Linked DNA regions of Homo sapiens: all the other regions are linked to region 1. The links are contacts of gene promoters, found by promoter capture Hi-C in blood cells and fetal thymus (Javierre and others, 2016). All regions are on one chromosome and are shown on one strand. The core of a region is centred on a gene start or on the middle of the fragment in contact, and the rest is flanking DNA. Distances in the headings are between cores, read along the strand shown. Region 1 holds the start of LINC00636 (long intergenic non-protein coding RNA 636). Region 2 overlaps HHLA2 (HHLA2 member of B7 family). Region 3 overlaps HHLA2 (HHLA2 member of B7 family).

Region 1 (2,996 bases), core at 65-2,564:
GACGGTTGTGACTGATGCTTGTTCTTGCCCCAAATGTTTCAGCACTAGTGCATTCTTTACTCACAGAATTTAGGTTCTGAGGAAAACCCTCATATGTCTTTCTGAGGATCATACACAGGAGACTTTAGCAGAACTAAAGCAAACGCAAAAGAATCCAGAATCTGGAATCTTCTGCATGTGATGCCACAGGTGACATTCTCCCACTCTGGGATGAAATAGACAGTTTCTCCCTTGCTTCTCCTGAAACCAGTACATTGGCTCAAGCTGTAGGCTCTGCCTGCAGGATGCACCAGCTCGTGTTTGAATTAAATACAGTGACTTGAAGAAGGAAGAACTCTACAGAGTCTACTCTGGCAACACCGGGAACAGAAGCAACAGGACATTCAGCTTCCAGAAACTGCAGCGGTGCAGTTCCAATGGTTTCTGGCCTCTACAGCCTGTATTCTTAGTGGTTTATGCTCCAATTTCTATACACATTGTTAGTAGCAGCGGTGTCTTCATGAGACTAATTCCGTGGTGTGATATTGTTTGAGGATGCTTATGTTCGTAGTCATGGAAATTTAGTGATTGCCTCCCCAGCATTCATTCTCTCTGTTCCCTTTCTGATGGGGACATGCAGATTGGTTGGGACTAATCTCACAGCAGCTCCAGGGATGGGCCCTAGTTACAGTGGTTGGGATGGCATTATGATCCAAACTTTGTCAAAAAGAGAGAAGATGTTTGATGGGGAGCATCTGGAGAATAAAATTATTCTGTCTTTCATGGATGCTAAAAAAAGATGCTCCCTTCATCCACTGGTTGTGAATCAGGAAGCAACCACCCCAGTTGTTCTGGTAACTATGTTGATATGGTGAAGCTATCAAAATAGTTTTAGGGCTATTCTGCCACTGGGGAAGGCTGAGACACAGAAAGGAAGTCGGTCCTGGGACATCATTAAACTGCTGGAGCAAGCTTACCTGAAGGGTCATCTGGTAAGCAGATATGGAGATGGAATTACCAGTGTCCAAGCTTTATTGAGGTAATGTTTGTGAAAGATAAAAGCAAGGCACAGGAAATATATGGGCAGCAAAACCCTTCAGACCTTGATCCAGGCCTGACACCTGTGAAAACAAAGGGAAACCCCGCAGGATTGGGCAGGAAGGGCCTCAAACTGTGATGCAGATTTCATAAAGTCTCTGCCAGCACCAAAGGGAGATCTAGAGCAAAAGCTGCTTGTTGGAAGAGTATGACAATGGGCGGAAATGCCCAGACACTAGTACTCCCACTGTACTTATTCGCCAGGGCTGTCGAGAAAGCTCAACACTGTTGTTCCAACTCAACACTGTAGAGGACCCTTAATGCCCACTGGCTGGCGGCTGTCAGTTACCGGCATCCTGCACACGTGGATAGTTTGTTCTTTTTTGAAGGGAGATCCAAGTAAGTAGTACACCTCCTTCCATTTCTGGGTTTCTTAAATTACTTGAACCACAAAATCTTTATATTATTACTGTTGTTGCTGTTATTATGATTTAAACAGTTAGACCGATTTTCTGTTACCTGTGAGCAAAGGAACTGTGATTGGTATGTGAAGTAATATTTTTAGATTTAAAAAGATTGTCAGTTCAGTTTAACATATACTTAAGAGGCAAGATACTTTAGTTATATTATCTCTGACCTTCAAAAACAAACAAATGAACAAACTCACAAATGCAGAGCTTATCACAGAACTGTTATGTGGTTGGAACTAATAAATGATAGCTATGATGATTCATCTCCATTTCAGTTATATTGCTCTTCAGTGTTTAATAATGGTAATTGGGTTTTTAGTTCCCAAAATGTGACTTTTTTTCTTGCACAGAAGTTAATGCTGATAGTTTCTTATGATTGTGTTAATGTTGAACTGACAAAAGGTATAAATTTTATAACTTAGTTTTTATAAGCCTTTACTTTTAACTCACAAATCTTGTTGCTATATTTGCAAATCTAATAATGGTGTAAGAATTTTAAGCACTTAACTTCATTTGTTATTTAATTAATGCTCAATTAGTTTATAAATTTTATGGATCAGATCTCTCAAATGTTAACAGTATATAGAAACTTTATTAACTAGATATTTTTAGACATTTCAAACAATTATTACCAATTTGAAAACCAGTTCTCCCAAATAATTCAAACACCTATTAAGCAAACTTACAAGTCTAACATGCAAGATATTTGCAATCTTTGTGAAAATCTAATAAATTTAATAAATTAGACAAATTTAATAAAGCAGATTCTCTTATCCATTTCAAACATCTTAAAGCAGATAAAGCATATATGAAGCAACACAATGACTATAAAATAGCTTACACATGCAAAAATCAATTCCACTTAAATCTATACTTCCTGGAGTTGGACACTTAGTTACCCAACTAAGAGGATGGTTACCCAAGTAACCATCATCAAGGGCCTGCTGTGGTTACTTGTGTAAAACTTGGGATCATCAGAAGGTTACCAACTCAGGTTGGGGTAGGGACTGTGGCCTGGGGACACTATCTAGGTGTTACTTAAAGAATGGTACTTCCTAAGCCACCAAATAATACCTTCCAAGTCTCCTCCTATAATCTGGTTTTAGTTGCTTCATCCCTGGCACACTCCAAGCTTGTAGATCTCAACTGGGATACAATTTAGTTTCACAACTCAATTTATCATGTGTCTGTCAAGTTTCATCTTTACCTACATTTTCAACTTTGTATTATTTGATTTCCATAGATGGAATCTGAATTCTCTAGCTATATTGTAACTTACATCTTTGCTGCCTGATTTGACATAAGAAATTCAGCACCCTCTTTTTTTGTGTGTCTCAGCTCTATCCCAAAGTAATTTTTGGAGAACAAAAACATCTTTTCTGCTCTTAAGTTGTTATCATTCTAGTAGAGAGAGCCAAGACATATACAAAAATCACCTACACTAAAAGGCAAAAATGAAGAAGACCATAAAAGTGTTGTAAGCAAATTTCTGTAAGATCACTGTGATAG
Region 2 (3,165 bases), core at 431-2,930, 440 kb after region 1:
CTATTAGCTTTTTTCTCCTGGAAGTTGATGGACTCTTCTTTTTCCCTAGTTTTCTGAAATTTCAAAATGGAGTATCTTTGTGTGAATGCTTTCATCCACCACTTTTATTCAGTAAGCTTTTTTTCAGTAATAGCAATTCATTTATTATTCTGGAAAATTTTCTTAAATACTTTTGTTTTCTACCCTGTTTCCTGTTTTCTCTTTTTCTCTAGATTTTTTAGAGTTGTCACCTGATTTTAAAAATCTTTTTTGCTTATTTTCTGCCTCTGTGTCTATTTACTGTCTAGGAGACAGTCTCTACTTTATTTTCTAACCCTGTTAATGACTTCTGCTCTTATGTTCTCAATTCCAAGATGTCTTTTCTGTTAATTTCTTATGCCATTCTGTTCCTTTTTTATGAATGTAACTTTTTCTTATCTCTCTGAAGATGTTAGTTATAGTTTTATTTCATTTGTTTTTGTTGATTTTCACCCTCGCTTGCTTGCATATTTTTATTTACTCCAGGATGTCTTTTTGTAAGGGAGGTTGGTTTCATTTATTTCTGTCTTCTGTGACAGCTTTCCTCAGGGTATCTGGTAATCCCTCAATGTCTGCTTAACATTAAGAATGAGGGAAGCTTATTGGAGGCTCTAAGAGCTCGGACTGTGGGCCATGCCTCTCAGGCGGAAGTCACTGGAGGGTGATACAGGCTGGGTCTCTGTGTTCAGCATTAGATATCTGTTTGATAAATTAGTCTTAACCTCTACCTTAACTCTAATCTGTGCCTGGACCATCAATTCAGACATTATTATGCTTTGTTTCTCCATGGATTTCTCCAAAGAAAGGGGCAATTGTTCAGTAAAGTGGAGTGCAGGAGAGAATCTAGGGGGTTTAACTTCTTAAATCGTTTAAGAGTCTGACTCCATTTTTATCTTTGACTGCTGAGAGCTTTCATGCCCACCTCCTCTTTCCTCTTCTGCCTCATATTTGAGCAAGTTGGTAAGAAAGCTGGTGCTGCCCCCTGGACACAGCAGAAAGTTCAACCTATGTGGGGGAGTGGATTTTCCCTCATCCAACCGCCTATCTATGATAAAAACCAAGTCTACTTATTCTCATTCTTGCTTTCGAAACGTTCTCAAGCTCATTCCAGACTAGCCTGGGTGTTGTCCCACTATGTTTAGAAAGTTCCATGATGTAATACAATGTGTTCTCACCTCTTGGTGTGTACATGGCGTCATCAGTCAGGACGTCTCACCTATTAATTGGGAGGGGTTCATCCCACCTGCATTGGATGGCTGTAAGAAATAGCTTTCCTATGAGGTTTTCTTATCTTAGTCTTTTTCTTTTTTTTCCATTACCAGTTCCAAAGCAGTTCCTATGTCTTTTGAGTACTATATGGTACAAGTTGGTGGACTTTCACATTTTCCCATTAACTACAGATTCATTTTCTTGGGTTTACTAAGTCAGTTACTACTTGCCCATTTTTCTCTAGTTTCCAAATTTTTGCTGACTTTTTTGTTTGTTTGTTTGTTTGTTTTGACCTCACCTCTTTTTCTGCTTTATCCATTTCTTAAAAAACAAAAACAATCCTTCCCATAGTGGGGGGGTCTGTGGTTGGGGGGCAGTGAGGTGGGGATGGTTAATGGAATAGAAAGAATGAATAAGACCTACTATTTGGTAACACAACAGGGCGGCTATAGTCAATAACTTAATTGTACAATTTTAAGTAACTGAAAGAGTATAATTGGATTGTTTTTAACTCAAAGGATAATTGCTTGAGGGGATGGATACCCCTATTCTCCATGATGTGCTTATTTCACATGCATGCCTGTATCAAAACTTCTCATGTACCCCATAAATATATATACCTACTGTGTACCCATAAAAATTTAAAAAATTTGAAAAGAAAAATCCCTTCCCTAAATTTTTATTGAGTTAAGGAGATAAGAAACAAAATTATAAACATGTATTTAAGCTGCTGTCTTTACCCAGAAATCCTGAGTGGGCTCATCTCTTCACACCTTGTCAACAATGGGTGCTTTTCTCATTTATTTAGTAAATGGATTTCCCTGAAATCCGTACTATGTTCTAATTGCTTTGACAACTGAGATTATTCATATTATTGGATTCTGGTCTAAACTACTTGTTCATATAACTAAAAGCCTAAAGGACAATTTCATGATTTGTGGCAGATTCTCACATTTAGCCATTTGGTTTACCCTAAATTTGCTTCCATTTTTTAGTAGTGCTCTATTGTAATGCAGATGGAAAACATCACAATGTTCTAGAAGGGAACTGAAATGAAAATGAATTATCTATACCTATCTCCACTCCACTTATGTAAGGGAAATTGAAAGATAATCACTTCATGGGTATCCATTTAAAATAAAAGCCACTTTTCTTTTCTTATTGCTTGTGAAAATTCAACCCATCTTTTGAACAAATTTAGCAGTGATTTACAATTTTTGGTTAAAAATGCCAGACTTAAGATTTCAAAATGCACTCCTTTGTTAGAAAACAATGATTTCATCAAATGGTAACCCTACTTTGTCTTAATAGTTAATTCACAGGTTGGTGAATCTATTTATTATTAAATGTAATTCAAAGGTTATTTTCACAGTAAAAGCATACAGATAAAAATTAGCCCCTTCTCATAAATACCAGAGTCCTAGTCTCCCCTCTCAGAGGCAGTGGACTACATTAAATTTATTATTACATACGTTTTGAGAAATTATTTATGTGAATACAAGCATATATATGAATATGTAAGCTTTTTTCATATAACAAGAGCATTTTTGCTGTTCCATGCCTTATTTTATTAACTGTACATTTCTGAAGATTTGACTGTATCAGCACATTTAGATCTTCCTTATACTTTTAATATTTTTGTGAAAATAGAATAAATACAGAGAAGTGCACAAAACATAGCTAAATGAATCAACACAAAACAAAAGCCCACAAGATAACCACCTGGTTTGCCAGGCAATCAAGCACTCCTAGGCTTTCACAAGGCTCCTTCATGTCCCCTCCAAGTCACTACCTTCTCTGTCTCTGTCAAAGGAAAATACTTTCTAGCTTCTAGCTTCTATGGTAATCCTGTCCTTGCTTTTCTTTAGTGTTATACCTAGGTGTACATCCTTAAACAGTACAGTTAAGTTTTGCCTGTTTTCAGAATGTCAGGTAATT
Region 3 (2,941 bases), core at 152-2,651, 470 kb after region 1:
TGATTTAAATTGCATTTTTCTATATTATAAATGAGGTTAATTTTATATTATATGCTTTCCTTCTCTGTATTAGCTATATATAACACTATACCTATATAACTATAAGCCATTAATATAGTTAATACATACAGTTATATACAGTTAATATCACTCAGACAGAGCTTCATGGTGGTTATATTATACAGTTAATATAACTATATAATATATTAACTGTATTAATATATTAACTGTTGCTAATTCTCATAGTTACATTGAACCAAACAGGTATTAGATTAAAACTGAAGAAATTCAAAGAGCTTCATGGCTCCTAATTACCGGATTACCAAGAGTTCCTGATGATGTGCTCTGTTAATGATCAGGCTGCTGATCATTTATATGCAATATAGTTAGTATGCATTATAATATATAGAACAATCTTACATATAGATATATATACACACACACACATACATGCAGTATTTTCTAATGGGTTGTTTTTCCCAGCACTTGTTTCTTTTTCTTCTGTCCCTTTTAGCTGCTTCAGACCTTGATTCAGAAATCACAAAATTATGTGTAAACAGTCAAATAGGTGCTCTGAGTCAGTATTTGAGGAGTGTAGAGTGCCGCATGAACTCTACTTTATAGACTTAGACATCCTCATTTTGGTTTTTCAATGAGGCCATTAGATTTCTTTTCCAGCTATGTTTCTAGAAAATTGAGATTGCTAGTTGCCACATACCCATGCCTGCTCTTTTTTTATTTCTTCTAGATAACCACACTATATCTTAAGGTTCTACAGAGGTGTGTGTTTGTTGGTTTGTTTTCCCTTTCAGTAACTGCCAAGTTTTGCTCATAAAATTTAGCTTTTCATTTCATGGATATTAAAAAGTATTCTGCACAGACGGCCTATAAAGAAGCTAATGATGGCAGTTTTTCATGCGCCCTTCTTTCTCCTATGTAGTTTTTCTCACACCCGTGATGAAGTATGAAAAGAGGAACACAAACAGCTTCTTAATATGCAGCGTGTTAAGTGTTTATCCTCGTCCAATTATCACGTGGAAAATGGACAACACACCTATCTCTGAAAACAACATGGAAGAAACAGGGTCTTTGGATTCTTTTTCTATTAACAGCCCACTGAATATTACAGGATCAAATTCATCTTATGAATGTACAATTGAAAATTCACTGCTGAAGCAAACATGGACAGGGCGCTGGACGATGAAAGGTAGGCTCCACAGGACTTTCTGTGTACACGTGCTGTTTCAAAGTTGGGGGGTAATGGGGACTGATTTGCAAAAAAAGAAAGGAAGATGAAAGAAAAGAAAGCAAATCCATCTGCAGCGGTTAGAAGACCAAGACCGAAGCCCTAGGGCTGGTTCTTCTGGCTGTATTACATTAAGCAATCATTCTTACTTTTGAGCATTAGTACCTCATTGATAAAATAGAAGTAATTCTTACCTTGCTATGTATTTATGAGTTGAGTGAAAACATTCATGAAGTGGAAAGAAGCAAATCTATTCTTGAATATTAATGTATTTGTCAATGGCTCATCCTTCAAACAGGATTTTCTACCAGCATTGCTCTTTAAAAGATCAAAGGAGAAAGAATACTTGTCTTTCAGCAGATCACAACTTCCAATCTTACAATTAAACAAAATATTAATGAGTATTATTGCTTCTTTTTAGTTTCTTTACATAGTATTAGCCCATCAATCTTTATCCAACACCTCTATCACAACATGGTCAGTTTTTAGCGCTCGTTCCTCTCATTTATTTGAACAGATCCAAACTCTGATCAATCTCTATATCCAAAACCTGTTTAATAAAAAGTAATTTGCTATCTCCATATCCAAGTCCAAGAAAATTTGTTTTCCTTTTTTTTTTTTTTTTTTGAGATGGAGTCTCCCTCTGTCGCCCAGGCTGGAGTACAGTGGCATGATCTCAGCTCAATGCAACCTCCACCTCCCAGTTTCAAGTGATTCTCCTGTCTCAGCCTCCTGAGTAGCTGGGATTACAGGCACATGCCACCACATGTGGCTAATTTTTGTATTTTTTTAGTAGAGACAGGGTTTCACCATGTTGGTCAGGCTGGTCTCGAACTTCTGACCTCGTGATCCACCCATATCGGCCTCCCAAAGTGCTAGGATTACAGGCGTGAGCCACCGTGCCCAGCCTGTTTTTCATTTTATTAGTAACAAAGCAAAAATTTTCTGTCAGTCTCCCTTATAGGGGGAAAATGGAGGTTATCTTTTTTTTTCAGTCTTCTCTTTCCTAGCATCTCATATTCTCAAAATGCTCACCAAAAATATACTGAAATTGTGGGTGATTCACCACATTTACATGAGTCCAGTGTTAAAGGCATGAGTACCCAATGTTCATTCTCCATCAGTCAGGCAGCAATGGAAACATGGGAAAGGGTTGCAAATGTTAATATTATAAATATTGCCTTTGGAAAATCCTAATTTCTCATGTTCATTTAGAATTGAGTGTCTTGAAGCATGAACAGTTCTTTAGGCTCAGTACTGTTTGGTCTCATTGAAAAGCTATTACGTGCCAAGTTTTGTTGCTCACAGACTGTGAACTTAAGAACATGGTCTCTACTGATTTCTGGATCCACAGCATCTAGTACAAATATAAAAATTAAACTAGGAACATAGCTTACAAAGGGAGTGATTAATTCTATTCTCTGTGGTTGGACATGAATGGGGTTGTCACAGAATATGTGCTTAAGAAAGTTGCATAAGGGTAGAATTTTAGAAGAGTAGTAGGACATTCCAGGAGAAGAAGAATATTCCAGGTAAAAAGCACAGAAAAGTAAAATTGCCTGGATTTGTGGAATCAATGGATCAAGAGATGAACCTGGAGAGGGAGGCCAAAAACAGATGAAAGACCTTTTACACGTTGCTAAGGAGCTTGTTGAGTCTTGGAGGTAGGATAGATCAGAAGAGGGATTTGAACCA

The links. Contacts are between HindIII fragments. The CHiCAGO score rates a contact against its expected background, and 5 or more counts as called.
Region 2: a contact is called between a fragment that was not itself captured here and the fragment with the promoter of LINC00636 in region 1, in 1 of 17 cell types (M2 macrophages). The highest score is 5.6, in M2 macrophages.
Region 3: a fragment that was not itself captured here is called in contact with the fragment with the promoter of LINC00636 in region 1 in 1 of 17 cell types (naive B cells); the score reaches 5.1 in naive B cells.

The regions. Positions count from the first base shown.
Region 1 is chr3:107,881,891-107,884,886 of GRCh38, forward strand. It overlaps LINC00636 (long intergenic non-protein coding RNA 636), which reads left to right and starts at 1,315. Exons shown (of 3, transcript NR_015394.1): 1 at 1,315-1,416. The HindIII fragment of the contact is 1,611 bases long and covers 1,007-2,617 here.
Region 2 is chr3:108,321,552-108,324,716 of GRCh38, forward strand. The region is part of intron 2 of HHLA2 (HHLA2 member of B7 family); the gene reads left to right. Among named protein-coding and RNA genes, the nearest start is that of HHLA2, 27 kb to the left of the region's middle. The HindIII fragment of the contact is 2,133 bases long and covers 615-2,747 here.
Region 3 is chr3:108,354,175-108,357,115 of GRCh38, forward strand. It overlaps HHLA2 (HHLA2 member of B7 family), which reads left to right. Exons shown (of 10, transcript NM_001282556.2): 5 at 941-1,207. Among named protein-coding and RNA genes, the nearest start is that of HHLA2, 59 kb to the left of the region's middle. The HindIII fragment of the contact is 6,821 bases long and covers 1-2,941 here.